7 separate regions of the Homo sapiens genome follow, and all the other regions are linked to region 7. The links are contacts of gene promoters, found by promoter capture Hi-C in human tissues and cell types (Jung and others, 2019). All regions are on one chromosome and are shown on one strand. The core of a region is centred on a gene start or on the middle of the fragment in contact, and the rest is flanking DNA. Distances in the headings are between cores, read along the strand shown. Region 1 overlaps XXYLT1 (xyloside xylosyltransferase 1). Region 2 overlaps ACAP2 (ArfGAP with coiled-coil, ankyrin repeat and PH domains 2). Region 3 overlaps PPP1R2 (protein phosphatase 1 regulatory inhibitor subunit 2). Region 4 holds the start of ACAP2 (ArfGAP with coiled-coil, ankyrin repeat and PH domains 2). Region 5 overlaps XXYLT1 (xyloside xylosyltransferase 1). Region 6 overlaps XXYLT1 (xyloside xylosyltransferase 1). Region 7 holds the start of TMEM44 (transmembrane protein 44).

Region 1 (3,441 bases), core at 138-2,637, 620 kb before region 7:
CGACTGAAGCTCCTTGCTGAGGGACTGCATTCCCTCTGCAAACCTATGGCCTTATGGGTCTTTCTGATGCTGCTGTTATCCCCTGCTCTGTCCGCAGTGCTGGTGAATTTCCCAGCCTGGGGCAGTTGGGGACAGGGTCCGAGTCTGACTTCTTTCTCTTTCCTGTGCAGCGGGTGTGGGAATGGGCGTGTGTCTCTTGAATGAGTATGGTGTTGGCTACAGATGGGCCGCTTTAGATCCTGGCTCTACCTCATCTTTCTGGGAGGTGGGGGGTAGTTGTTTACATTCTCTGAACCACCTCCTCTCTGTAGCAGGGGCCCAGTCCTATCACCTGCCCCAAAACATTGGTGTGAGGGCGACGTTAAGTGACTGAATGTGCACAGCGCAGCTGTTTGTGCTTGACGCGTGCTAGGTGGACCCTTAGGCACTGCCCTGGCCCCGTGAAGGCCCTGCAGGTCTGTGTCCCACCCTTGGTGGCTGTGCCCAGCTTTAGCATGCCACCTCATGGTCCTGCTCAGTGGCTCACCTGCTCACCCTGTGTCAGGTCCCAGCCTGGCGCAGGTGGCTGCCCCTGAATCTGGGCCTTGCGAGCCTGTTGCCTGGATGCCCAGGTTCCAGATGCTTCACCTTGGGAAACAAAAGAGCAGTTTTGGCACAGAGATCCCGCAGCCTACAGACTTAATTATGCCCCGTGGACGTGCTGAGCAAGAGTGAGAGGGTGACTGAGCCTGCAGAGGGCTCTGTGTGATGCCATGTGGCCCCCAGTTTCCTCACAGGGGAAAAGGAACAAGCTTCCGGCTCAGGGAATGGCTTCCCAGGAGCAGATGGTACTTTGAAAATCACCTCGTCAGGCTTCGAGCCTGCGTCCTGTGGTTGGGAGGGTGAGGGGCGTGTTGTTTCTGCTGCTGACCCCAGTTTCAGGGCAAATTTAACCTGTGGTCAGTGCAGGGTGGGGCTTTGGTCCCAGGCCCTGGGGCTGAGGCCCTGGAGAACCTGCCAGGCCTGGGCAGTCACTGCTGACGTCTGTGGCCAGAGTCTCCAAGCGCTGAGGGCCCCCTGGGGCCTGATTTATGGGGGTCTTTGGGGGACTTGTTCCAGCCTGGAAATGTGAGAGGGAAATCTCCCCACCCCAGTGGGGGTGCCCCCTGGTGCACAGCTGGGCAGTGGGCACCCCCGTGACTTGTCCGAGAGCACCGTTTCCCTCTGGTGTTACCCTTTAAAACTCACTTGAGGGAAGAGTGATTGGCTACATAGTTGAATTTGCTGAGCAGCGTTTGCAGAGGATGTAAACTGCCAGGTAGGCTGGCCCTGCTTACTGGTCTCTTCTTTGGGCTCACTGAGTGACTGAGTGGCTTTCGCTTTGATCAGAAATGTGAACAGGCCGGGCGCGGTGGCTCACGCCTGTAATCCTAGAACTTTGGGAGGCCGAGGCGGGCGGATCACCTGAGGTCAGGAGTTCGAGACCAGCCTGGCCAACATAGTGAAACCCCGTCTCTACTAAAAATACAAAAATTGGCCAGGCGTGGTGGTGGGCACCTGTAGTCCCAGCTGCTCGAGAGGCTGAGGCAGGAGAATTGCCTGAACCCAGGAGGCGGAGGTTGCAGTGAACCAAAATCACAACACTGCACTCCAGCCTGGGAGACAAAACTCCTTCTCAAAAAAAAAAAAAAAAAAGAAAAAAAAAGAAATGTGAGCAGTTGAAGATTTTAGAACTGATGTGGCTCTCAGAGAGTTGGGAGACATTTTAAGGCAAATGCAAAATGAAAACGTGTCTTTTGCTTAAGGCTGTGTCTTAAGCAGGGGCCTTGGGAAATGAAACGGGATCTTGCCGCTTCGCCTCCTGATTTCTGGAGCTGTTGACTTCTCAGCCTTTTTCTGTGACATGTGCAGCATCTGGACCTGATTTACGGGAGTCTTTGGGGGATTTGTTCCAGCCTGGAAATATGAGAGGGAAATCTCACTGCCCCAGGAGAGGAGTCAGTGCTTAGGGCAGCCTTCCCTGGGCCCCGGGGAGAGGGAGGGTCCAAGAAAAGGGCAGGAGAAAGTGCTTGGAGAAAAGCGGGCAGCTGGGGTGCAGTGCCTGGGCTCCACGGAGAGCCCTTTGTGACTTGCTTCTCCAGGTAGTGGAAAGCTGTAAATCTCATTCAACAAACCGTCTTCATTTTCCCACGTTCCCTTGAGCCCTTGTTTCTTGCAGGCCTAATTTGGATAGAGCAGGGGAATTTTGTTCTCTACTCACGTTACTGAATAGGGGACCCACCTGCGGTGGCGTATGCCATAAACGCCTCCCCGCCTCGCCGCCCCTGCCCTGTCTCCAGCTTATTGTTCATATCACTGTAGCATACGTTATAGTCATATTTCTTTTGTAACCTGAGCTGTGAGTTTCTGTTTTTTTCACACAATAAATAACACCACAGTGAATCTCTCTCTCTCTCTCTCTCTCTCTCTCTGTGTGTGTGTGTGTGTGTGTGTGTGTGTGTGTGTGGTTTTTTTTCTTCTTTTGAATTGTTCCCAGGAACCTTCCTTGATTCTCCACAAGAAACACTTCCCAGTCCTATGTGGTCCTGTTCCCACAAATTAACACATGTGAAGATCAGGTCTATCAGGGCTGCTCCTCAGTGCCCACTCTCTTGCCTCTTCATTATAAAGAATTTTTCCTGCTAATTTATATTACACAGCCCCGCTTTTTGCCTCTCACGATATATTTTTTAGATGTTAAAAAATTTTAATTCTAAAATAAGCCAAAACAGAAAAATGAAAACAAAAAAAGTAACAGATATCTTTGTTTCTACTGTGTAAGTTAAATAGGTGCTAACATTTTTCTCTATTTGCTTAAGATTCTTTTTTTAAGGAAATAAAATATTATAGACGTAGCTAAAGCTCACTCTATTTCTTCTCCATCCTACTCCCTCCAGAGGTATTTACTGTCACAAATAAGAAGTTGGTGTTTTGTGCAATTTGTATGTTTTTAATTTTTACCACATATGTATGCATAAAATATATATGTATTACTGCTTTGTATGTTTTCAGCAGTTATGTAAACAGTCTCATATATCCATTTGACATTTCATTGTGAGTATGAGATTTCATAGCCTTATGATTTTGAGATTTATCTTTGCTGATACATGGAAGTCTTGCCCTGTCATTTTAATTGCTGTGTAGTATTTTATTGTGGGTGGACCTCCGTTTACTCATTTGCCTTCTGAGAGATGGCCGGGTGGTTCCCCTGTTTTGTCACTCCCACTACTGTGAACACCCAGGCGAACAATGTGCTTGAGGCTCTCCAGGGTCACGCCTGGAAGGGGCTGCTGGGTCCTGGGGTGTGTGCATCTTCTGCTTTGCAGGACCCTGGTGAGCTCCCCTCCAGGTGGCTGTTCCCCTTCCCATTCCATGTTCTCTTGAGCACTTGGCGGAGACTCCCTTTTATTGGTGTGGGTCTTG
Region 2 (3,667 bases), core at 17-2,516, 730 kb before region 7:
GGAGCTGGAAGCCATTATCCAAACTAACATAGGAACAGAAAACCAAATACCACATGTTCTCACTTGTAGGTGAGAACTAAATAATGAGAACATGTGGACACAAAGAGGGGAATAACTGTCCCTGAAGCCCTTGAGGGTGGAGGGTGGGAGGAGGGAGAGGATCGGAAAAAAATAACTTATCAAGTACTAGGCTTGTTACCTGGGTGATGAAACAATCTGTACATCAAACCCCCATGATAAGAGTTTACCTATATAACCTGCACATGTACCACTGAACCTAAAATAAAAGCTAAATAAAAAATTAAGCATTTAGTAAACAAAACAATAATTCATTTTAGTCAGTGTCATAAATATTACGTATGATCAGAAAATCAGATTTAAAAAAATGTTTTTGAATCTCTAAAGGCCTACAATTTATTTAAAATAAGTTTTAATTATGTACACTTAATTTCTTCCTCTTTTTTTTTTTTTTGTTTGTTTTTGAGACATAGTTCTGCTCTTGTTGCCCAGGCTGGAGTGCAGTGGCACGATCTCAGCTCACTGCAACCTCCGCCTCCCAGGTTCAAGTGATTCTCCCGCCTCAGCCCCCCAAGTAGCTGGGACTACAGGCACCCACCGCCATGCCCAGCTAATTTTTGTATTTTTAGTAGAGATAGGGTTTCGCCATGTTGGCCAGGCTGGTCTTGAACTCCTGACCTCAGGTGATTCACCCGCCTTGGCCTCTCAAAGTGGTGGGATTACAGGCGTGAGCCACTGTGCTCTGCCGATTTCTTCTTTAGAAATGATTTTTATGGTTAGGAGTTACTATAAATGAAATTTCATCAAGTCACACTTTAGCTAATTAACACCAAAAGCCAATGATAAATAAAAATGAAGAAGTAACAGCTGAAAAATAACAAAAACAATTATATTCTAATAAGAATCTGTAATACTAAATGATGATGCTATGGAAACAACGATATGTAATTTCATGATTAGTAGGAAAAATATGAAAAATAACATGAAATGATAACACAAATTGTGGTAAAATATAGTTTTGGATGATTCAAATGGGAATGCAGGAGGAAGAATTAATATAGCTTTGGCAAAGTAGTAATTACTACATTCAGAAATTTAACAAACAGTGGCTGGGATAACGCCTGTCATCCCAGCACTATGGGAGGCAGAGATGGGTGGATCATTTGAGGTCAGGAGTTTGAGACCAGTCTGGCCAACATGGTGAAACCCCGTCTCTATTAAAAATACAAAAATTAGCCAGGCATAGTGGTGCATGCCGGTAATCCCAGCTACTTGGGAGGCTGAGGCAGAAGAATCGCTTGAACCCGGGAGGCGAAGGTTGCAGTGAGCTGAGATCGAGCCACTGCGCTCCAGTCTGGGTGACAGAGAGAGACTTGGTCTCAGAAACAGAAACAAACAAAAAACCAGAGAGTTAACAGACAGGCATACAAATAGTACCAAAATGTAATTTTAGCAGTTGTAGATTCTGAATTATACCAAGTAGTTTGCAGCTTTAAAAATCACTATAAAAACTTATAAACATCAATATCTTAAATACGGCTACCAACATCTTGTCAGTAACTTTGACTGTTTAACAACTGCCCCAAAACTTTGTGACTTAAAACAGCCACCAAGTGGGGCTTGGAGGGATCAGCTTACTTCTGCTCTAGTTGGTGCTGGCTGGGTGGCTTGACTGTGGCTGAAGGATTCAGCATGTCTGCTACCTTAGCTGGAGTGGCTGGAATGACTGGTGTTGGCTGAGCTTCTTTCACCCTTTGGAGTCTCTCATCTTCTAGGACTTCTCTCTCTACATTTGGCCTCTCTCCCCAGCAGGCTAGTCAGACTTCTTAATGTGATAGTTGGCCTTCACGAATGTGAAATCAGTGGGTACATGGTCCCTTAAAGCCTGGGCCTACAAGTCACATCGCATCACTTCTGCATTCTTTTGATCAAAGCAAGACTCAGAGCCACCCCAGATTCAGGGTAAGGAAAATCAACTCTACCGTGTGAGTGGGAGAGTGGCACGCACCTGCAGGGATGGGAGGAATTGATGGTGGTCATATATATAGGTTGCCTTTCAATACCTGATCTGTGTGCCAGGACTCAGTGTTAGGAAGCTTGACAATAGTCAACTAATCCCCATTCCCCCAGAGTTTTATTTATGTCATTTGAAGTGTAGCATATAATTGAAAAAATCTCCCCAGGTGATCCTGACATTGCAGTAAAGTTTGAGAACCACTAGTAAAGTTTGAGATAACTGATTCTTAATGAGTGGTCCCTGGACCAGCAGCATCAGCACCATCTGGGAACTTGTTAGAACTGTAGATTCTCAGAGCCCACCCTAGATCTGCTGAATTAGGAGCTGTGTCTGGGAGCTAGCAATCTGTGTTTGAACAAGCCTTCCAGGTGTTTCTGATGTATTCTAACATTTGAAAACCACTGTTTGAGAGCACAGTTTGGCAAACCATGCGTTGCAGGCCATATCCAGCCCATTGCCGTTTTTTTTTTTTTTTTTTTGGCGGGGTTGGGGGGCATATAAGTTTTTACTGGAACACAGCTATGCTCTTCTGTTTCTGTATTGTCTATGGCTACTTTTACACCACAGCAGCAGGGTTGAGTAGTGTGATAGAGGCCTCATGGCCCACAAGCTTCAATGCTTATTATATCTAGCCCTTGGCGGAAAGAGTGTCCTGATGACTGTTGTAAAGGACTCCTTCATTTTTCCCATTTACGGAGACTGTATCTGCCATGACACACACTGAAGAGTGGTCCTTTTAATGTTAGTGAATGTGACTTAGTGGTTTAACTGCCTTTCATGAATTCTTCTCAGTAAAATGGTGTTGGATGAACCAGGCTAATTAAAACCAGATTGTTTGCGAATAAGAAGCAGGCATTAGTAATTTTTAAGGCTCCCCATGTCATTCTAGTCTGCAGCCCAGTTTAAGAAACAGTGGATTGTTTCCTGTAAACAAACCACCTGGAGATCTTGGTAAATGCAGATTCAGATTCTCCATTTCTAACAAGACTGGGGTGGTTCTAGCGATTCTATAGTTCTGACCAGCTCCCAGGTGATGGCGGTAATGTTTGGTCACACCTGGCAAGCTTTTAAAATACTGATTCTGGAGTCACCAGTGTCTCTAATTATTGCAACATCTGTGTATTTAAAAGTTGCCCAAGTTATTTCAATGTGCAACCAATTTGAGAACCACTGGGTAGAGCAGTTTGGTACCAATGTTTGTATAACAGAATCATCTGGCAAACTTCCTAAAAATATAGAAGCAGCCTATGTTTCTTCAACAAGATTGCATCTTTGTATTTTCTTTTAGTTTTCCATGTGATTGTGATACAACACTAAGCCAGTGGAGAACCACTGCCTTAGAGGAAGGAAGAAAAGGTTTGGAGAAACAAATTAGTACAGGTAGAAGGGCCAGACATGGTAGCTCACGCCTGTAATCCCAGCACTTTGGGAGGCCAAGGTGGTGGGCAGATCACTTGAGGTCAGGAGTTCGAGACCAGCCTGGCCAACGTGGTGAAACCCCATCTCTACTAAAAATACAAAAATTATTCGGGTGTGGTGGCGCGTGCCTGTAATCCCAGCTACTCAGGAGGCTGAGGTAGGAGAATTGCTTGAACCCAGGAAGTGCAGGTTGCGGTGAGCTAAGGTCGCGCC
Region 3 (3,376 bases), core at 763-3,262, 880 kb before region 7:
AGTACCAAAATAATCTGTTATATGAACAGACTTCTAAAATAACGTCTGTATATTTTATATATAGATACATATATGAAAGAAGGCTTTTATTGAACAGCTTATCTTCCACTTGCAGGTTTATGGAAACAGCAGTATTTGAAAATAAATAAAAAGTGGGAGAATTCCTTGCTGTTAGAAGAATGTGGCCATTATTTTGATTTTTTGAATGAGATATATAATCAAAGTACTGCTGAACTGTGAGTGCAGTATTCTAAACATTTCAGCTAGGAATACCACTGATTTAGAAACAAAACTGTTTGTCTCTGGTTTCTGAATTTAAAATGTTGGGATTACCTGTTTAAATCTGTCTTGGGGGATGTAGAGATTAAGTCTGTACATGTGCGTGCACATATATTCATGCACCCTCTGATTTTGGTTTTCTTGTTTCTGAGTTCTTAGAAAGTACCCACATACTCTTTTTTTTTTTTTGTAGAAGTAGCTGTCATAGAGTGAAGAAAAGGATAAGACTTTAAACAGTTGATTCTTTTTGTGTTTTCTACAAACTATTTTTTGAAATTTAAATCACAAACTCATTTTCTGGTTTTTAGAAAGTAGATGATGATTTCAGAGGAGTAAGGCATGCCAAGCAGCATGCTCAGTGGGGTTTTAGGCTGTCACATGCAGCTGAGAAAAGGTATGTTCAAGTCATAAGTAGGTAATTGATAGGGTATGAACTAGTCAAAATATGAACCATTATGATTCAAGTTAGATTTTCCTCTGGAGAGACAGATCTGAATGTTCAGTTCTAGCCAAGGTAGATTTTACTTTCAACTTTTTAATCAGTATCACTTTCTGTGCTTAACTATTTGGTGTTACCTTGTCTGTTTTCATTTGTCTAAAATTCTGCAGAGATGACTAAAATTTGACATAATGGTGTAAATGGATTGTTAAGGTAACTTTCAGTTGAAGATTAAAGCAAGATGCCATTTTCCCCATGACTTTGGTTTTGTTTACATTTTTCCCTTTCAGTTAGTATACACTACACGTACTGTAATAAAATACAATAATATGACAATTGCCTGTGTGTGGATTTTATTTTATTGTTACTTAGCTATCTCAAGACCATAATCCATCGACCACTTGCCCTGGATACCAGGAGTGGATCATGGATTACGCTGTGGCCGAGTAGTTTCCTCAGTCTTAGTAGCATTGTGCTCAGTCCCTTACATCTAACCCTCAAAACCACCACACAAAGGCAAGCATTCTTATCTACACTTTGTAAGTGAGGAAAGTGCTCTTGGTCAACTTATTTATTAATCATTTCAGTGCCTCACACATGCTAAATGATAGGATTTAAATCCAAACCTAACTAAATTTCATGGTCTTTATTCATACATTTTTTGATGTAGAAAACATTTTAGAAATTGTACCTTACAAATAAATGTATATGGATTATTGATCCATAACTATGCTTTAGGAGTAGCATTTTTCAGGTGTTTGAGCTTCTGGGGTTTTTTAAAATCTGAAAAATTGGAAATAACTTAATTTTGTTTGCAGTTTGTGTGCCATCTAGGAAAAATCGCTCAAAAGCACAAATAGCCAGTGGCTGGAGATGAATGCATGTCATTTGGTTGTGTTTTGCAAGTTTGTTTCTTAGCAGGCTGTTTCAAGCTCAGAACGTGATTTTTTTCATACAATCCATCTTAACAAGTCAAGGACCGTGTCAGCCTATAAAAGCCAACATGTACCCAACACAGGATTGCCCAGTGTGTTCCATGAAACCCTTATCCCACACCATGCTCCGTGAAAATGAGGCAATAAACAAGCCTCGCACATACTGTGTACTTTATTCCCCAGCCTCTTGGAGACTTATGTACATTATTATCATAATAAGGAGTCTGAGCAGTCCTGCTTATAGGAACCTATTTAAAACTTAGTTTTACCTTTTTCAAACATATCTCACTGTAACCACCCCATTTTGTCCATCAAATAACATCCCAAGTAGGGCAATAGGCCAGGGTCTCTCATATATCAAACTTGGACTTTCTCCTAAAAGAGGAAGAGAATGGTTTATCAGTGAAAGAAGGAAGACATGGTAGCAATAACTGCAGGGTATTGATGGATCGGATACAACTTGCCAAACATAAGATTTTACTTTTTGGTAACTTATGCAAGAAACTGCAAAATATATATTCAGGACAGATTAATGTGTAGTTGTGGTTGGTTATAAGCTGCAGTGGTTTTGTACTGATAGACTAGTATTCCAAAGACCTGCTGCTCAAGCAGATTTTTGGAATGTCTTACACTCGCTGTCCACTCTTTGCATAGTTGGTTGACAAGAGCACGTCTGCTACCCGTCAAGAAAATAGAAGAGCAGATAACAAGTGTCTCTGGTCTGTGGCTCATACCCCCAAACTTGGTTACTCCAGCAAAGTGGTTTTGGGATTCGACTCATCAGGTTTTTGATTTGAGGAATTATTGGGGGAGGTAACGCTGAGAGTAGGTGAGTGAGGATGCATTTGGCAAGTGTTTAGTCATGATTTTATCTCAACTGCCCAACCTGAAATTTTTTTCAGTAAAGTCTGCCAAGTGTTCGGCATTTCAGTTCTATTACCAATGGGAATTGTTGCAACTGGAAGATAACGCCTATAAATTGCTCCTATCTGTTTAATTGTGTGTGGATTGATGACAGTGTTGACTAGAACTAGAAGAGGATTCTGCAGGCTAATCTTTTATATCTTAATATCATTTGACCTCACTTATTAAGCAAAGAGGATTATAAGCAGCTTTTCAGTATGCCTTGTTCTAATGGTTCAGTCTGAAAAAGTGTTACCAATAATAGACTAATGAAATGAACATAGGAAGCAAAGTTTAGTTACATTCTCGTTTAGTTAGGCTTCTTGGTCTTGGAAGTATCCCTGTATAAGCAATTACTTAGCGTCAGAATTCTATGTTTTTATCTTCCTATGTAAAAGACACTCTCAATTGAAAAATAAGCATTTTATCATAGGGCACTGTGCCAAGCTAAATTGGGAAATACACACATAAGATTATTTCCCTGCCTTTAAAGAGTTTCAAGCTTAGGTGTGCAGAGCAGAGAGGGAGCGCTGCTTTGCAAGAACAAGGAAGGAGTAAGAAGACATTCACCCTCTGCAGCCATTCTCAGGAGGCCTTTCTGGTAGGTGAGACTGAGAAGGCTGGGCTAGCAAGCCACTGCCATTTATCAGAGTTTTATGTGGATTTTCTTCGTACCAAATGAAGATCTCCGATATGTTTGGTTTGGCTCTGTGTCCCCACCCAAACCTCACATTGAATTGTAATCCCCATTGTTGGGGAGGGACCCAATAGGAGGTGATTGGATCATGGGGGTAGATTTCCCCCTTGTTGTTCTTGTGAT
Region 4 (3,772 bases), core at 144-2,643, 810 kb before region 7:
CTCAGCATTTTGGGAGGCTGAGACAGAAGGATCACTTGAGGCCATGAGTTTGAGACCAGCCTGGGGAACGGAACGAAATTGTTTGATTGTTTTTGAGACAAACAAAAACTTCAGACAGTGAAAGTGAGAGAACTTAGACTTAAGCCCTTTGATTATAGTACTGAAGAGGCAAATGGTACAATTAAAATAGCCAACATTTACTGAATGATCGATATGTGGCACTGTGTTAACCGGACAACTTCATCAGATCTGTGTGTTATGTTCATTTTAAAGTGAGAAAGCTGGGACCTAAATCCAGGAAGTTTGCCTCCAGATTCTCACTCAGAGCCACTATGCTGTTAGAACACCCTGTATATTCATTTTTATAGATACGCCCGTGTTTTTTAGGTTGGCTTAAAAATTACTCATTACATATAAGACATCTTTGTACTTTTTACAATCAATGGCATCTTAAAATGAAGGAGTATGGTAAATACCTGCCGTGAGGATCAGATGATAAGTATCTTAAAGTGCTTCTAGAAAAAGTGTGGATTAGAGGGGCAGGTGTTGCAAGGTGAGTACGATGAGCCTGGTCTTCAGAACCCCACCATGGCAGAACAGTGAAAACCACCAGGAGCAAAGTGTCAGTGAGGGGGAATGCTTTCGGCAGTTTTGAGAGGAGTTCCTCCACACGAAGCACCCTACCTCCCATACCTGCCTAAATCTTTCTATGTCCAACCCAAACGGCAGCTCCTTCAGGAAGTGGTCTCTGGCTATATGAGAAGATGTACATGGGAGCAATTTCCAGATTATGAAGCTATGGAACAAATACATGAAAGATGGATTTTATCACTAAAGTTATCCTCGCTCCTCTTCTGGCCTCAGTTTCTCTAAACTGAAAGGAATAGGTGGCTTAGCCTATCTCTTCCTTTTATAATTTCTGCCTCTAACCTCTTCAGATTTCTGCCAATCTGCTTTGAAAAGCAAATTTCCTTCCTCAGACCTGCAGGAGACTGCTCCTCTGGGCTGGCAGCTCAGCAGGGCGGGGCTCGGGGAGCAGGAGAAGAGGCGGGGGCTCGGAGGGAAGCGCGGCCGCAGCCACGTGACTTCCTTCCCAAGGAACCTCAGCTGCCGGCCTCCCAGCAACCGGTGCGTCCCGCCTAGCGACGCCCGCGCATCCCGGTTGGCCCTCGGGGGCGGTTGTGGCAAGGAGGTGCCCACGGTCGCGCTGCTCATTGGCTCGGGTTGCCGTCGCTCAGACCCGTTGCCCGGGCGCCCGCAGGCGGTGCTGCCGGATGCCCCGCCCCTTGGCCGCCAGGTTCGTGGCTGGCTGGCCGCTGCTGTCACTCCCCGGCCGTTTCCCTGCGGCCAGCGCTCTACTTGGGGCGGGAGGAAGAGGGGCGGGACTGGGGCCTGACTAGTCGTCGCCGTCTTCGCGGCTGCTATGACCAGCGGGCGAGGCGCCCTTCGCAGCTCCGCGCAACGCTAGTCGCGGCCGTGCGCCCGCCGTAGCCGTCTGCGTCCCAGCGCGGCCGCTCCCGCGGCCCCCTCGGCTTTGCCAGCGCCGCCTGCGAGGCGGAGGCAGGATGAAGATGACTGTGGATTTCGAGGAGTGTCTGAAGGACTCGCCCCGCTTCAGGTAACCGGCACGGCCGCCCGGCGTCACCGCGGAGCTGCCTTCCCGGCGCTGGGGGCGTGAAAGCCGGGCCCGCGCACCCGGAGGAGGCCCCGCCGTCCGCTCCTTCCGACGGGGCGAGCGGCTGTTGCCGCCGTTTCCCACCCTGCGAGGGCACTGCAGTCCCCACCGAGCCCTCCCGAGGGGCGACGAAGTGGCGGGGACGGGGACGTCGCCTCTCATTTCTTTCCTTGCCCTCTGCCGGGGCGGAGCGCCCCGAAGGCCGGCGCACCCTCTCCCGCTGGGGGAAATGGGGTGCAGCCGCGCTCCCGAAGTCCCGTCCCCTTCGCGGGCGCTCGCTCTCGCCCCCTTCCTCCTCTGGCTGCTCTTCCTTCCCCCTTCCTTCCGCCCCTTCTTGGTTTCCACCCCCTCCCCACCCCCTCTTTGAGGGAGCTTTCAGGGCATCCTCTTGCAGTTCATTTAGTTCCTCTTTGCGCTTTTCTGCCCCCCTTCCCCGGGGAGGAGAGAGTAGGGGGCGAACTGGGACGCCGACTTCTGCTTCGCGGTGCCCCCGGCCAGAGCGACTCTCCGGAGGGCGCCCGCGGTGGATGCGTGCGGGAATCGCGGGGGGAAGCGCTGTGATCAACCGCATTCCGTGGACCCTAGTTGGTGACTACCTGCTTTTCTTTCCACTTAAGCTCGTTGAAGGGGGCACAGCTGTCGAGAGGTACCGGGCTGAGGGCGGAGGACTAGCAGAAAAGTGCATTTCTGTTTTGAGAACGGAAGTAGGAGGGCCGTGAAGATTGCCTGTGTGTTCCTCTTCCAGCAGCCTCTGCCCAGGAGGGCCCGGATCACAGTCGGATGCTCCCAGTGGATCTGTCACAGAGTTGACATGGGGGCACTCCGATTCACATGGGTTGCCCTTCTTTCTATGTGAGAGGCGGTCGTCCTGAGGCCGTCCAGGACACAGGTTCTTTCTGTTTTGAGGATAGTAGGAAAGTCTTGAGTTGTTTTGGACAATGGAGTTTTTCTAGGTTGCGTTTTACAGTGTATTTATTTACAGGGCTGGTCATAGTCCTTACAAATATAAGGCCTTAACACTTCCGTTAGATAGTGACATTTCTTGAAGCTTCCTCTGAGCACTGGCGTGTGTGTGCCCGCTAATGTCTGGGCCAAGCCTGGATTGTAAATTGCATCCTCTGCCTGGGAACTAACTGTTCTCATCCTTAACACTGTTAATTGGATTTCTTATTCTCCTTTCAGCGAAAAAGAAAAGAATTGTAAAACTAAGGAACTGCTACTTAGAGAAAATTTAAGAACGCTTTTTGCGTTTGCCCTTTGATGATTTTTGGGTATTAATTTTATTGGAGCCTAGGGCTATTATTTAAAAAAACCCACTTCCTTTGATAGCTGTTGTTGCGATTCATTTTTGAAACTTTTATGTTCTGCATTATTGAAGGACTCAAGAGACACAAATAGATTTCCTAGGACAGGCGTGCAGGTTGGTTTCCAGGACAGCATGGCAAGTGGAGTAATTTTTAAAGTGCACCTTAGAAAGTTCAGCTTTTTGTGAAATTTTGTTACTATGACTCAGCTATTTATTTTTAAGTGAAATAATCACAGCATTTTTCCCTTAGAAGATGTAGCTTTGAACTCCCTTTGTTTCACATTAATTTTTTTTTTTTTTTAAGTTGAGAGAAGTGATTTGGAAATACTTCTAGCTACTGGGGTTGGTCACAAACCATGTGATGTCTTTGTTTTTGAAATAAAGAAATCATTGAATATAAAATAAGAGGGCAACATACTGATTAAGTTGTAGGGAATATTATAGTGAACTTTTGTTAAACTTGATTGTAACATAAATTCTATGTTAATTAAAATATTACAGGTTTTCAGGAGTTGTTTCCCATATTCCAATTATTGTTAGCTGCAAATTGGGAAGAGATGCCAAAATTTCAATAACTTCAACATCTTATATACATTTTGGGGACAAATTAGATTTGCAATAGAGGGAAGACTGCCGAGAAATAGAAGTTTCATTATTCATATTCTTAATTTTTTATAGTTTTTCCATAATCCTATTACTATGAGGATCTGTATAGCATTTGAAAAGAATATTTGAGAAGTCTTCATTCACATGTTGTATGTATAAGAAGAGCTTTACTTTTGAGAGTATTG
Region 5 (3,736 bases), core at 69-2,568, 520 kb before region 7:
CCTTCACCCTCTCTCTTCTGCCAGCCGTGACAGATTGGGATTTAGTGGCGTCCGATCCTTCTGCACTTAGTATCTTGGGAACACATTGGTACTTATTGCTTACAGTTGATTGTATGGGCAGGTGGGTCTATCCCAAGCCGTAGGTGCTACCTCATTATTTTGTTGGAGTTTGTGGCCTTTTTCTTCTGAAAAGCCCAGTTGTTCTGGTTGTTGGATCTGGTTAAGCTCAGAATTTTAAAATCTTGGGCTTTGCCTTACGGAGGAAGATTTAACTTCCCTTCTACTGACCAGCTGGGCTTTCTTGGCCTGTGAGTCACCAGTGACCCCCATTCTCTATTAGCAGAGTGGGTGGATTGGTGGTCTTGTAGGGAGGGAAGACGTCAGAACACAGACTGGCATCAGTAGTCAGCACGAAGAAGCGCATTCCGCATGATGCTGCATTTGATTGTCAAGCCTGTGTCATGGAGAAACTCCAGGACTGAGAACCATTCTGGAATATTCACTGTAGCGTTATTTGTAGTAGCCAAAACTGAAAACGACTCAAATTTGCTACTTAGCAGAATGGATAAATAAAACGCATTCATTCAGTTGAGTGCTATACAGCAACAGCAAAAAAGGGAACGGCTCCATGCGACGAGAGCGAAACCAAACTGGAACCTTTAGGGATGCACATGTGCAGGTGCGGAGAATGGGAAAGGAGAAGGGGGGTGATGCTTCCCAAAGCCGGCGTGGCAGGCGGTGGGGGGCGTGGGGGTGGGTTGGCTCTGGAGAGCTGCAAGGTCTCAGTTCCCCACTTAGCTTAGCTTCATGTTTGCATGCACTTTTTTGTGTGTTCTTGTTCTACATCTTGTAATTAAAAAAAAAAAAAAGGAAAGGAACAGCTGAAGCGGGTTTTGATTACAATAAACCAGGCCTGTGGCCCTGGGCCTGGAGAGTTTCATGTTGCTGGCTGTTTCTCCAGCGGGTAGAGCGATAGCACACCCAGAGCAGAGCTGCCGAGTTTGTTCGGAAAGGGCTGGGATTTTGCTGTCCCGCAGGCATGCCCCGCTCTTTGTTCTCAGTGCACACCGTGATGCTGGCTCCCTGCCGACCTTCCTGGAGGGAGGCCCAGTCGTTGGAGAGCTGCAGAGTACAGGCAACTAGTGAGTCAAGAGCCTGTGTTTCCCCTCAGAAAGAGGGGGTGAAGAGGCAGCTTCAGCTCGGTTGTGGCTATTTGCATGACCCAGATCACATAACAGGAAATTCCTGCAAGGCCCCTAAATGAGCTGATAACTCCTTGGGCCGTGTGGACTTTTCTCCCTTATATAATCCTCTCACGTGTGGCCCCAGAGTCACTGGGTAGGCCTCTTCCTCTGAGGTCAGGGGTTGGCGACTTGAGAGGGTTTGGGCAGACACCTGCCATCTTAACTGTAGAAGACTCCCCACCTTCTTCCCTCCCCTTCATACCAGGAAGATCTGCTGGGGTCCTTGGTCCAACAGAGGGAGGTGATAGTGGTCGCAGCAGTGAATCCATATGGGTCCGTAGCACCCTCACTTCCTGCCTCTTCAGAAGAAAGAATTTGAGGGGCCTCAGGCAGAGTGAGAGACCAAGGCAAGTTTTAGAGCAGGAGAGAAAGTTTATTAAAAAGCTTTAGACCGGAATGAAAGGAAATAAAGTACACTTGGGAGAGGGCCAGTGGGTGACTTGGAGATCAAACGTGCTGTGTGACTTTTGACTTGGGGTTTTGTACATTGGCGTGGTTCTGGGGTTTGCGTTACTCCTCCCCCGGTTCTTCCCTGAGGGTGGCCTGCAAGCCCTTGGGAGGGAGCGCAGTGTGTTTACCGAGGTTGTGCACGCGCTCCCTGGAGAACTCAAATGAAGTAACAGTGGAAGTTTCTGTTGCGAGAGAGACCCTCATTAAAGAGCATTTCCCCTCCCTCCCTCTCTCCCTCCCTTAATCTTCATTCCTCTTTGTGTTTTCTTTACCAGATGGTTTGTTTCTGTGATTTATTTCCTGGTTTCTTCCCTTACCAGTCCAGCCTTCCTAGAGGAGGGTTTTGCCTCCTAGTGCACATGCCTCCTAGTGCCACCGTTTTGCCTCCTAGTGCACATGCTTGAGCCCACGTGCCCAACTCCTGAAATCTTACCAGGAAGCTGCTGGTCGTCAGTTCCAGGTTCTTTCTATCTACTGGGACCCTCCCTTTCCCTGGCGCTGGCTGCATCCAATTATCATTTTAGAGAGACGGTTGACAACTGCCTGACCATCAGCTGATGGTCGCCTGACATTCCTGGTGGTGGTGGAGCCCTCTCCTGCCCTGCTCATGTCTGACTAGCTACCTACTGTAACAATACAGGGAGCCTCAGAGTCCCAAGCCCTAGATACTAGTCCCAGCTCTGCCACCTTGGGGCCTTTGTTCCCCCACCTGAGAAGGAGAAGAGCTGAGCTCTAAGTCCCCGCTCCCCGGCTCTGGCATTGGGGGTTACAGCCCTTCGGACCCTCATTGTCCTCCCTCCGTCTGGAAGTTGCCTGTCTGCTGGTGAGCTCTTCAGGGATCGGGGAGAACTGACGTCATGGGGTGTTTAAACTGGGCTAAGTATTAAATGCAGTTACAGCGCCAATGCCTTCAAGGCCTGCTTTGGAATCTTCTCATGTGATATAAATGGAAACTTGGAAACCCATCGTGCTTAGACAGGATTGGCCAGAATTTGTATTTTCTGTAGATCTAGGATTTTATAAACAGTGCAACTTAAAATCAGTTTAATTATCTGGACTTCCTGAAAGAAAGCTCTGAAAGATTTTAGATTCGAAATGAAACTGAGTTTTTCTAACCCTGAGCATCTTTAATTTTCATTATGTACTATGATAACCATGAGACCTCCGCTGCAGCAGAGTCTGAAGAATGGCGTTTGCAGGGCCTGGGCACTCAAAAATCAACAGAGACTTATACTCCTTTTCATGCTCCCTCCCTCCACCCCTCAGCTGAAATGTTTCCAGAGACCTTTAATAATGGAGTCTGCAGATGACAGCCCTGCACTGCCTGCCGCGTGCCCCGCTGGCTCTGGGGAATTGCCTTGTAACGTTTGCAGTCTCATGCTGGGGCTGGGAATGGCTTGGTACTGGCTGGCCGACAAGGAATTGAGCATGTTTTTTGCCTTCTTTCACAAGAAGACTGGGGACCTCTGGGGACCTGGGAGATCCGGCATTAATTATCTGCTGCTTTGGAGTGTTCACCTGGCTGGCAGTGGGGCTAGGGTGGGGAGGCTGAGAGAAGGAAGAGGATGGGAATGGAAGGGGAGAGAGGAAGCAGGGACAGCGCAGCCCGCCTTTCTCTTGAGCAGGCGGTCTCGGCCCTTGGGCTTGGCCATTGCTGCGGCCGTCAGACTGCTTCCCACAGAGGTCCCCTCTTGCCCCTGCCTGGGACTTCCATGGAACTGGCAGTGGGCTCTGACCACCAAGGGGTCTCCCCAGAGAGGGGAGTGAGGTGGACAAGTGTTTTATTTTAAGAAGAACATGCTAGCATCTATATGAAAGGAAAATTTAAACACAAAACAGCACAAAACCAAATCTTGACTAGGTAAGCAGACACATTTTAATCTGGAAACTTGCTGAGCAGGAATAGATTTGGATCTCCCCAGCTGTGTCATTTTTATAGTCACTTGTCCCATAGTTACTTTACCTCAAAAGGGCACATTTTAAGTCATTTTTATGGCAGTCTCCTCTGTATTGTGTGCCATGAGTGTTGTTAGAAGCTTGGA
Region 6 (3,652 bases), core at 208-2,707, 590 kb before region 7:
CTACAGTAAAAAGTAGTTTAATTACACATTTTCAAATAACTAAAATAATTGGATTGTTTGTAACACAAAGGATAAATGCTTGAGGTGATGGATACCTCATTTACCTTGATATGATTATTATGCATTGTATGCTTGTATGAAAATATCTCATATACTCCATAAATATATATACATACTCTATCCACAAAAATTAAAAATAAAAAAATAGTAACAAAGTTTTTCTAAATTTAATAGTGTTTTAGAAATTAAAAGAGACCCAAGAATAAAAGGAAAGGTGAACTAAGAGAGATATAGGTTAAAAAGAAATATAAGAGAAATAAGCTATGTAAGAGATACAGGCCGGGCGCGGTGGCTCATACCTGTAATCCAACACTTTGGGAGGCTGAGGTGGGTGGATCACCTGAGGTCAGGAGTTCGAGACCAGCCTAGCCAACATGGTGAAACCCTGTCTCTACTAAAAGTAGAAGAATTAGCCAGGCATGGTGGTGGGCGCCTGTAATCCCAGCTATTTGGGAGGCTCAGGCAGGAGAATCACTTGAACCTGGGAAGCAGAGGTTACAGTGAGCCGAGATCACGCCACTGCACTCCAGCCTGGGCAACAAGAGTGAAACTCTGTCTCGAAAAAAAAAAAGAGATACATATAGAAGAAATAAGGGAAATAGGCCGGGTGTGGTGGATCATGCCTGTAATCCCAGCACTTTGGGAGGCCGAGGCGGGCGCATCACGAGGTCAGGAGATCGAGACCATCCTGGCTAACATGGTGAAACCCCATCTCTACTAAAAATACAAAAAATTAGCTGGGGGTGGTGGCGGGCGTCTGTAGTCCCAGATACTTGGGAGGCTGAGGCAGGAGAATCGCTTGAACCCGGGAGGCGGTGTCAGTGAGCCCAGATTGCACCCCTGTACTCCAGCCTCGGTTGACAGAGTGAGACTCCATCTCAAAAAAAAAAAAAAAAAAAAAAGTGAAATATAGGCCAAAAGCAGAACCAACAGTAGGGAAGAGCAGACGGTGGTTTACAGGGCCACGACCACCGATGGCTCTGGAAGTGCAGGTAGTGCAGGCAGCACCCTGAGACTGGAAGGGCAGGTGGAGGGAAAGGGGAAAGGTGAGTGATGGAGTGGAGCCCGCCTATTGGAGAGCTTCAAGGGCACCACTTGCCACTGTCTGGCAGGGCAAGTGACAGTGTAAACAGGGCAGTCAGGGGTTCACGTGGCTTTGCCTTTTGCTGCTGGCACCTGTTCAGGTGGGCTCTTCGGAGTTGATGAGGTGGTGATTGAGCAGCTAGGATGCAGTGTGGCAGGCTTGTCCTGTCACATACCAGAGAAGATGGTGGCGGGAGGTGGCGCTTGCAGAACTCTTAGGAGCACTGAGGAAGAAGGTGGAGGAACACCCAGCCTTCTGGCTTGAGTGCCTCCTGTGTGTCGTAGAAGGATCTAGATCCTGTGGGGGCACATGGAACAACAGGAAAAACTTGCAAGACCTGTGGGACCAGTACATGGTCATCTGGTATCACATGTGAAGCTGGGGCTGCGCATGGGCCATACTTCTCATCTTCTGGAGTAGAGTTAGACAAGGAAACCCAACTCAGGATCGCGTTAGTACTCTTGTCTGCTCTAATCGCGGGTTGAGCTGATGTCTTCATCCTTTGTTGGTTGCTGTTAAGGAATGAGGATGCGTTTATGGTGGAAAGAGTGTGGGGCTGAGAATCTGGAGGCCAGGGTCAAGTTCTGACTCTGCATTTATTATCTGTGTGACTTGCTGCAAGTGTAACCTGTCTGAGTGTCTGCGTCCTTATTTGTAATTTGGAGGCTATAATAGTGATGTCTGCCTCACAGAAGCCCTAGGTTGTCGTGGGGATCAGTGTGGGTATGTGAGAGTGTTTCATAAATTGCAAAGCTCTGCCGTAGCTGATTATACCTCTGGACTTCTAAGTGCTTTGAGGAAAGTGTACCTGGTTATTCCTTATACTTCTCACAGTGCCTCCAGAGTGTCAGTGATACTCAAGAAATGCTAGTTGAGTGTGAGTTTACTGCAGCACAGAGCAGTTTCCGGGTTCCATTTTCCAGTGGCCAGACCCTCTCCTTGTTCACACTGTTGGATGAGGGAGGTAGAGCTGGAGCATCGGACTGGCCTATGGAACAGATGCAGTGGCCACCAGGAGGTGGCGATGCCTGGAGCAGTGTTAGCCATGCAATGTGATGAGGATCACACACTCTCACGTGGTTTCCAGTCGCTGGGCACAGAGCTACCTTCAGGGGGGCCCAGCTTCATGTTCAAAAGCAGGAAGCAGACTAGGGGCTGTTTCCATTTCCTGTCCTCCCACTTCTCTTCCACTGCACAGCCCGTACATGCATGCCTGCATGCCACCCCTCACACAGTGTCCCCATCTCCTTAGTGCGGCCTCAATTCTGACTCCTGGTTGTTTCTCGTTTCCTTAACTCTCCGTTGCTACCCCTAGCCCCATCCCCTGCTTGTGGACCCTGGAGAGGCACTGTCTGCCTCTGCCTCTGTGGGCCCAGGTGCTTGTTGGGTGTTGAGCTTGCAGTGAGAACTGGTTTGCTGAGCCTTGGTTTTTTTTGCACCTGCTGCAGGTCATCTTCCACGATGTTGCTGTGCTGACGGATAAGCTCTTCCCCATCGTGGAGGCCATGCAGAAGCACTTCAGTGCTGGCTTGGGAACCTACTACAGTGACTCCATCTTCTTCCTCTCGGTCGCCATGCATCAGATCATGCCCAAAGGTAACCTGGGCTTCCAGGAGCAATAGCCCCTGGGTGTCTGACTTTTGCATCCATTTCCCTGGTTCCAACACTGCCCAGGCCCTGTATCAGGGAGAATAGCTCCACTGAACATGAAAGAGTGGACGAGGGAGCCAGACCAAGCCCTTTGTACCACCGAGCTTCCTACACCAAGAATCAAGGGCAGGGCCTTGGTTGCATAGCTCCCGGGGTCCATTTATGAGGACACAGGGGGTCTCTGGGCTCTGGTCTGGACTCTGCCCCTTGCACTCGCCCCCTTCTTTCCCCACTGCTCAACCCCCATACTTTGTTTGCTCATCTGAAAAATGGTGGGTTGGATTAGATGATCCTCCATCCAAATTTATGCTCTTGTTCTTTCTAGTTTGAATCTGTATTTATCTGATTTTAAAATAGCAAATCTAGATGTGAGAGGTGCAAATTACGACCATGTAGAACTTCTGAAGAAACTCTGATGCGCAATTAGAAGGATTTTCTGGGCGTCTGTCTCCAGGAAAGAGAGATGCATCATCCAGTGTGTGATAGGTCCAGCTTATGTGGAATTTCTGGCAGGTCTGGTCATGCTTGGACTGGAAGCCTTGGAGGGTCTAACTCCTAGAGTGTGTCTGGTTTCTAGGATCTCCCTACAGTGATCCTTAATGGGTTCTGGAGCCCTGGATATTGACCAGTGTATTAATCTGTTCTCACGCTGTTCATAAAGACATACCTGAGACTGGGTGATTTATAAAGGAAAGAGGTTTAATAGACAGTTCAGCATGGCTGGGGAGGCCTCAGGAAACTTACAGTCATGGAAGGGGAAGCAAATACGTCCTTCTTCACATGCCGACACCAAGGAGAAGTGCCAAGGAAAAGGGGGAAAAGCCCCTTATAAAACCGTTGGATCTCAGAGAACTCACT
Region 7 (3,676 bases), core at 800-3,299:
AGCAAGGACACTCCTAGGTATATACCCAAGAGAGCATGAAACCTGTGTCCACACAAAAACTTGTGCACAAATGTTCAGAGCAGCATTATTCATAATAGCCCAAAGGTGAAAGCAATCCAAACATCCCACTAATGAGTGGATAAACGAAATGTGGTATAAAAATACCCATACCATGTATTATGATGAGCCATAAACAGGAATGAAGTACTGATAACACGCAGCAACATGAATGAACCTTGAAAACATGCTAAGTGAAAGTCACAGAAAGGTCATATAGTGGATGATTCCATTGATGTGGAATGTCCAAAATGGGCAAATCCATAGAGACAGAAGGTAGATTTGCGATTCCTGGGCTGCGAGTGTTGAGGGGAGTGGACAGTAACTGCCAGTGGGCCGGGTTCTTTTCAGATGGGGGTGATGAAAATGTTCTAAAAGTAGACAGTGATGTTGGTTGCACAACGCTATGGATACACTAAAAACTGCTGAATTGTACATTTTATTTTTTGTTTTGTTTTGAGATGGAGTCTTGCTCTGTCGCCCAGGCTGGAGTGCAGTGGCGCCATCTCAGCTCACAGCAATCTCCGCCTCCCAGGTTCAAGCAGTTCTCCTGCCTCAGTCTCCCGAGTAGCTGGGATTACAGGCGCCTGCCATCATGCCTGGCTAATTTTTGTGTTTTTAGTAGAGATGGGGTTTCACCATGTTGGCCAGGGTGGTCTCAAACTCCTGACCTCAAGTGATCCACCTGCCTCGGCCTCCCAAAGTGCTGGGATTACAGGCGCGCACCACCATGCCCGGCTAATTTTTGTATTTTTAGTAGAGACAGTGTTTCACCATGTTGGCCAGGCCGGTCTTGAGCTCCTGACCTCAAGTGATCCGCCTGCCTCAGCCTCCCAAAGTGCAGGGACTACAGTTGTGAGCCACCGTGCCTGGCCAGAATTGTACATTTTAAAAGTACTATGTAGGCTGGATGTGGTGGCTCACACCTGTAATCCCAGCACTTTAAGAGGCTGAGGAGGGCAGATCACGAGGTCAGGAGTTTAAGACCAGCCTGGCCAACATGGTGAAACACCGTCTCTACTAAAAATACAAAAATTACTCGGGTGTGGTGGCGGGCACCTGTAGTCCCAGCTACTTGGGAGGCGGAGGCAGGAGAATTGCTTGAACCTGGGAGGCGGAGGCTGCAGGGAGCTGAGATCGCACCATTGCATTCCAGCCTGGGCAACAGAGTGAGACTCTGTCTCAAAAAAAAAAAAAAAAAAAAAGACTATGCTTATGGCATATAAATAATATCTAAATAAAGCTGTAGTTTTTGAAAATTAAAAAAGATTTTTTTTCTTTTTTTCAATCCTGCTCCTTCTATAGAAATATTGTTTTCAAGTCATGTCTTGCTTTAAACAAACCTACTAAAATCAATAAGGAGATTTAAAAATTACAATAATAGTTTACTCTCAAGAAAAACAGCCCTGTGTACTTGAACTGTGCGGTGTGTGGCTGGACAGGAGGCGGCCGGTTGCAGAGATAACCAGCTCTTGGCTGCGGGGCCGTGGGCTAGGATGACATCCAGGAGCAGGGCTTGGGCGACTGCCTGGGGGCGGAGGGTGCCGTTGGCAGCTTCAGAAAGGAGAGTGAGAGGCAGATGTGGGGGTATTTGTTCTCCGGCACGTTTGTTTCCTCCTTCCTGGTCTTGCACCCCACCCTTTTTACTGCGCCCTGTCGGCGATCAGGACCACGCCCCCTTCACCTCGGGATCCCAGCACCCATGCGCTTCAGCAGCGCAACTAATTGCTGTTGGCTCAGGAAATGTGGACAATACGCAGGAAGGGACGCCGTGCCTTACAGCGACCGGCAGGGACTCGGCCGTCCGCGAGCCCAGCCGCCCGCCCCGCTCCGGCCAGGATGTTGGAGGTGGGTGACCGCGAAGAGGTCGGCGGGGGGCGGGGGCCGCAGTCTTTGTGCGCGCGCAGCTCCCGGCTCCCGCCGCTGGGGGGCGGCCTCCGCCCTGCCGACCCCCGACAATAGCGCGAGGGGTGGGGAGCGCGCGGTCCCGGAAACTTTTCCCCGGCGCCTTCGCCGCCGCCGCCCGCGCCCGGGAGCGCGCCCTTCTCTGCCCGCGGTCGGTGCGCTCGGCCGGAGGCGCCGCGGCGGAACGGAACCCAGAGAAGGGCACGCGGGGCGGCGGCGCTCGGGGCTTGCCCGCGGCGAGGGAGGCTGCGCCCAGGTCCCCGGCCCCGCGCCGCGCGCCCAGCCGCGCCATGGGGGAGGCGCCCAGCCCCGCGCCCGCGCTCTGGGACTGGGACTACCTGGACCGCTGCTTCGCCCGCCACCGCGTCTGCATCTCCTTCGGCCTGTGGATCTGCGCCTCCTCCTGCTGGATCGCCGCCCACGCGCTGTAATGGGGCCACGGGTCGGGGGGCTGTCGGGCGGGGAAACGGGCGCCAATCCCCTGCTGCTCCCTCTCGGAAACCTAGAGGAGGGGGCGGAAAGGGGGATGAAGGAGATGGCTCAGTAATAGGATCCAATGGAACATTGCTCTGTAGACTGAAGTGGGATCTTCTTTCCGGATCCCACGCACAGGGAAGCTGGGCTGTGAGCCAAAGGGAGGAGGCTGGGTGGTGCAGCGGATGGGGCCCCGAGGACACCGCGAGCCCTGGGTGCTATTGTCAGCCCTTCGCCATTGACTCGCAGTGTGACCTGGGCAAGCTCCAGAACCTCTCTGGGCCTCCTATGACCGGAGATAATACCTCATAGGATGATGGGAGGATTCGATGAATCAGTACCGTTAAAGCACTTAGTAAATGCTCATTAAACATCATTTGTATTGCTCCAGCTAGGCCACCAACTCTTAGGACCTTGGCAAGTCCCTTGATGTTTCTGGCCTCAGTTTACCCAAAGTCCTCTTAGGTGGGAAGGGAGGTAGTGATATGATCCAGCTGGCCTGTCTTTGCCCTGGTCTGTCCAGCACCTGGACTGGTTTGTCCAGATGCCCACGGTAGCCTAAGTTCTAAGAGTGAATCTCCAGGTCCTCAGCCGCTCTGTCCTAGGCATGGAAATCCACTAGCAGTGCTCAGGATGGTGCCGCCCAAGCATTCCCTGGCAGGGGAGAAAGGACCAGCACCCCTGGGAGAGGTTAGAACTGTCTCCCTGTAGGCACTCAGTGGATATTCTCCTAAGGCGTTTGGTCGTATTGCAGAGATTCTGCAGCCCCACTACCCAGTACTGCAATACAAATAAAAAGACGCCTAGAACATTTACTGTAGGCCCAGTGTTGCATTCATTAACTCATTCAATGCCTGCCACTCACAATATCAGCACCAGGAGGTAGGTGCTGTTACCCCCACTTTCTGTAGGGAACCCTGAGGTTCTGAGAGGTTAAATAACTTGTCTGAGTGAAAGGAAAGAACCAAAACCCCAGATCCTATTGGAAAGGGGCAGGCTGGTAAGAGAGATTAAACTGTTCAGATCAGAGGCTGGAAACTAACAAGGCGCTGGACACGCATTATCCTTTTGTTCCTCACAGTTGTCCTCAGACCAGCACTGTTAGGCACTTTGCCAACCTTGGAGGGGTTAAGAGTGAGCCTCTGCTTCTCACCCTGCCTGGGATCTGGACATACCCATTTGTTTTCAGGGCCTTGCCATCCCTGAACCTCCCCTGCTCCCCTTTCTCTTAGAAGAATGT

The links. The method cuts DNA at HindIII sites, captures the fragments that hold promoters and counts their contacts. A contact is called where the count stands out against the background at its distance.
Region 1: a contact is called between a fragment that was not itself captured here and the fragment with the promoter of TMEM44 in region 7, in 2 of the 25 tissues and cell types used here (bladder and spleen).
Region 2: a contact is called between a fragment that was not itself captured here and the fragment with the promoter of TMEM44 in region 7, in 1 of the 25 tissues and cell types used here (spleen).
Region 3: a fragment that was not itself captured here is called in contact with the fragment with the promoter of TMEM44 in region 7 in 2 of the 25 tissues and cell types used here (liver and spleen).
Region 4: the fragment with the promoter of ACAP2 here is called in contact with the fragment with the promoter of TMEM44 in region 7 in 1 of the 25 tissues and cell types used here (IMR-90 fibroblasts).
Region 5: a fragment that was not itself captured here is called in contact with the fragment with the promoter of TMEM44 in region 7 in 5 of the 25 tissues and cell types used here (IMR-90 fibroblasts, dorsolateral prefrontal cortex, psoas muscle and 2 more).
Region 6: a contact is called between a fragment that was not itself captured here and the fragment with the promoter of TMEM44 in region 7, in 1 of the 25 tissues and cell types used here (spleen).

Annotation. Positions count from the first base shown.
Region 1 is chr3:195,251,737-195,255,177 of GRCh38, reverse strand. The region is part of intron 1 of XXYLT1 (xyloside xylosyltransferase 1); the gene reads left to right. Among named protein-coding and RNA genes, the nearest start is that of XXYLT1, 18 kb to the left of the region's middle. RefSeq lists enhancers at 837-1,624, 2,414-2,463 and a silencer at 3,283-3,332. The HindIII fragment of the contact is 4,979 bases long and covers 1-3,441 here.
Region 2 is chr3:195,365,900-195,369,566 of GRCh38, reverse strand. All of the region lies in intron 4 of ACAP2 (ArfGAP with coiled-coil, ankyrin repeat and PH domains 2), which reads left to right. Among named protein-coding and RNA genes, the nearest start is that of ACAP2, 75 kb to the left of the region's middle. The HindIII fragment of the contact is 3,212 bases long and covers 1-2,872 here.
Region 3 is chr3:195,512,103-195,515,478 of GRCh38, reverse strand. It overlaps PPP1R2 (protein phosphatase 1 regulatory inhibitor subunit 2), which reads left to right. Exons shown (of 6, transcript NM_006241.8): 6 at 1-1,051. Among named protein-coding and RNA genes, the nearest start is that of PPP1R2, 30 kb to the left of the region's middle. The HindIII fragment of the contact is 4,639 bases long and covers 1-3,376 here.
Region 4 is chr3:195,440,641-195,444,412 of GRCh38, reverse strand. ACAP2 (ArfGAP with coiled-coil, ankyrin repeat and PH domains 2) reads left to right here and starts at 1,393. Exons shown (of 23, transcript NM_012287.6): 1 at 1,393-1,618. The coding sequence starts at 1,566. RefSeq lists silencers at 1,029-1,528, 1,649-1,868, 1,889-1,938 and enhancers at 1,350-1,849, 2,389-2,478. The HindIII fragment of the contact is 9,168 bases long and covers 1-3,268 here.
Region 5 is chr3:195,152,668-195,156,403 of GRCh38, reverse strand. All of the region lies in intron 3 of XXYLT1 (xyloside xylosyltransferase 1), which reads left to right. It overlaps XXYLT1-AS2 (XXYLT1 antisense RNA 2), which reads right to left. Exons shown (of 2, transcript NR_102711.1): 2 at 3,548-3,736. Among named protein-coding and RNA genes, the nearest start is that of XXYLT1-AS2, 6.7 kb to the right of the region's middle. RefSeq lists enhancers at 983-1,122, 2,560-3,200, 3,201-3,736. The HindIII fragment of the contact is 7,618 bases long and covers 1-3,736 here.
Region 6 is chr3:195,225,797-195,229,448 of GRCh38, reverse strand. It overlaps XXYLT1 (xyloside xylosyltransferase 1), which reads left to right. Exons shown (of 4, transcript NM_152531.5): 2 at 2,593-2,740. Among named protein-coding and RNA genes, the nearest start is that of XXYLT1, 44 kb to the left of the region's middle. RefSeq lists an enhancer at 2,479-3,073. The HindIII fragment of the contact is 8,654 bases long and covers 1-3,652 here.
Region 7 is chr3:194,631,792-194,635,467 of GRCh38, reverse strand. TMEM44 (transmembrane protein 44) reads left to right here and starts at 2,049. Exons shown (of 10, transcript NM_001011655.3): 1 at 2,049-2,389. The coding sequence starts at 2,253. It overlaps TMEM44-AS2 (TMEM44 antisense RNA 2), which reads right to left and starts at 2,540. Exons shown (of 2, transcript NR_186047.1): 1 at 2,301-2,540. RefSeq lists a silencer at 1,851-2,280. The HindIII fragment of the contact is 16,299 bases long and covers 1-3,676 here.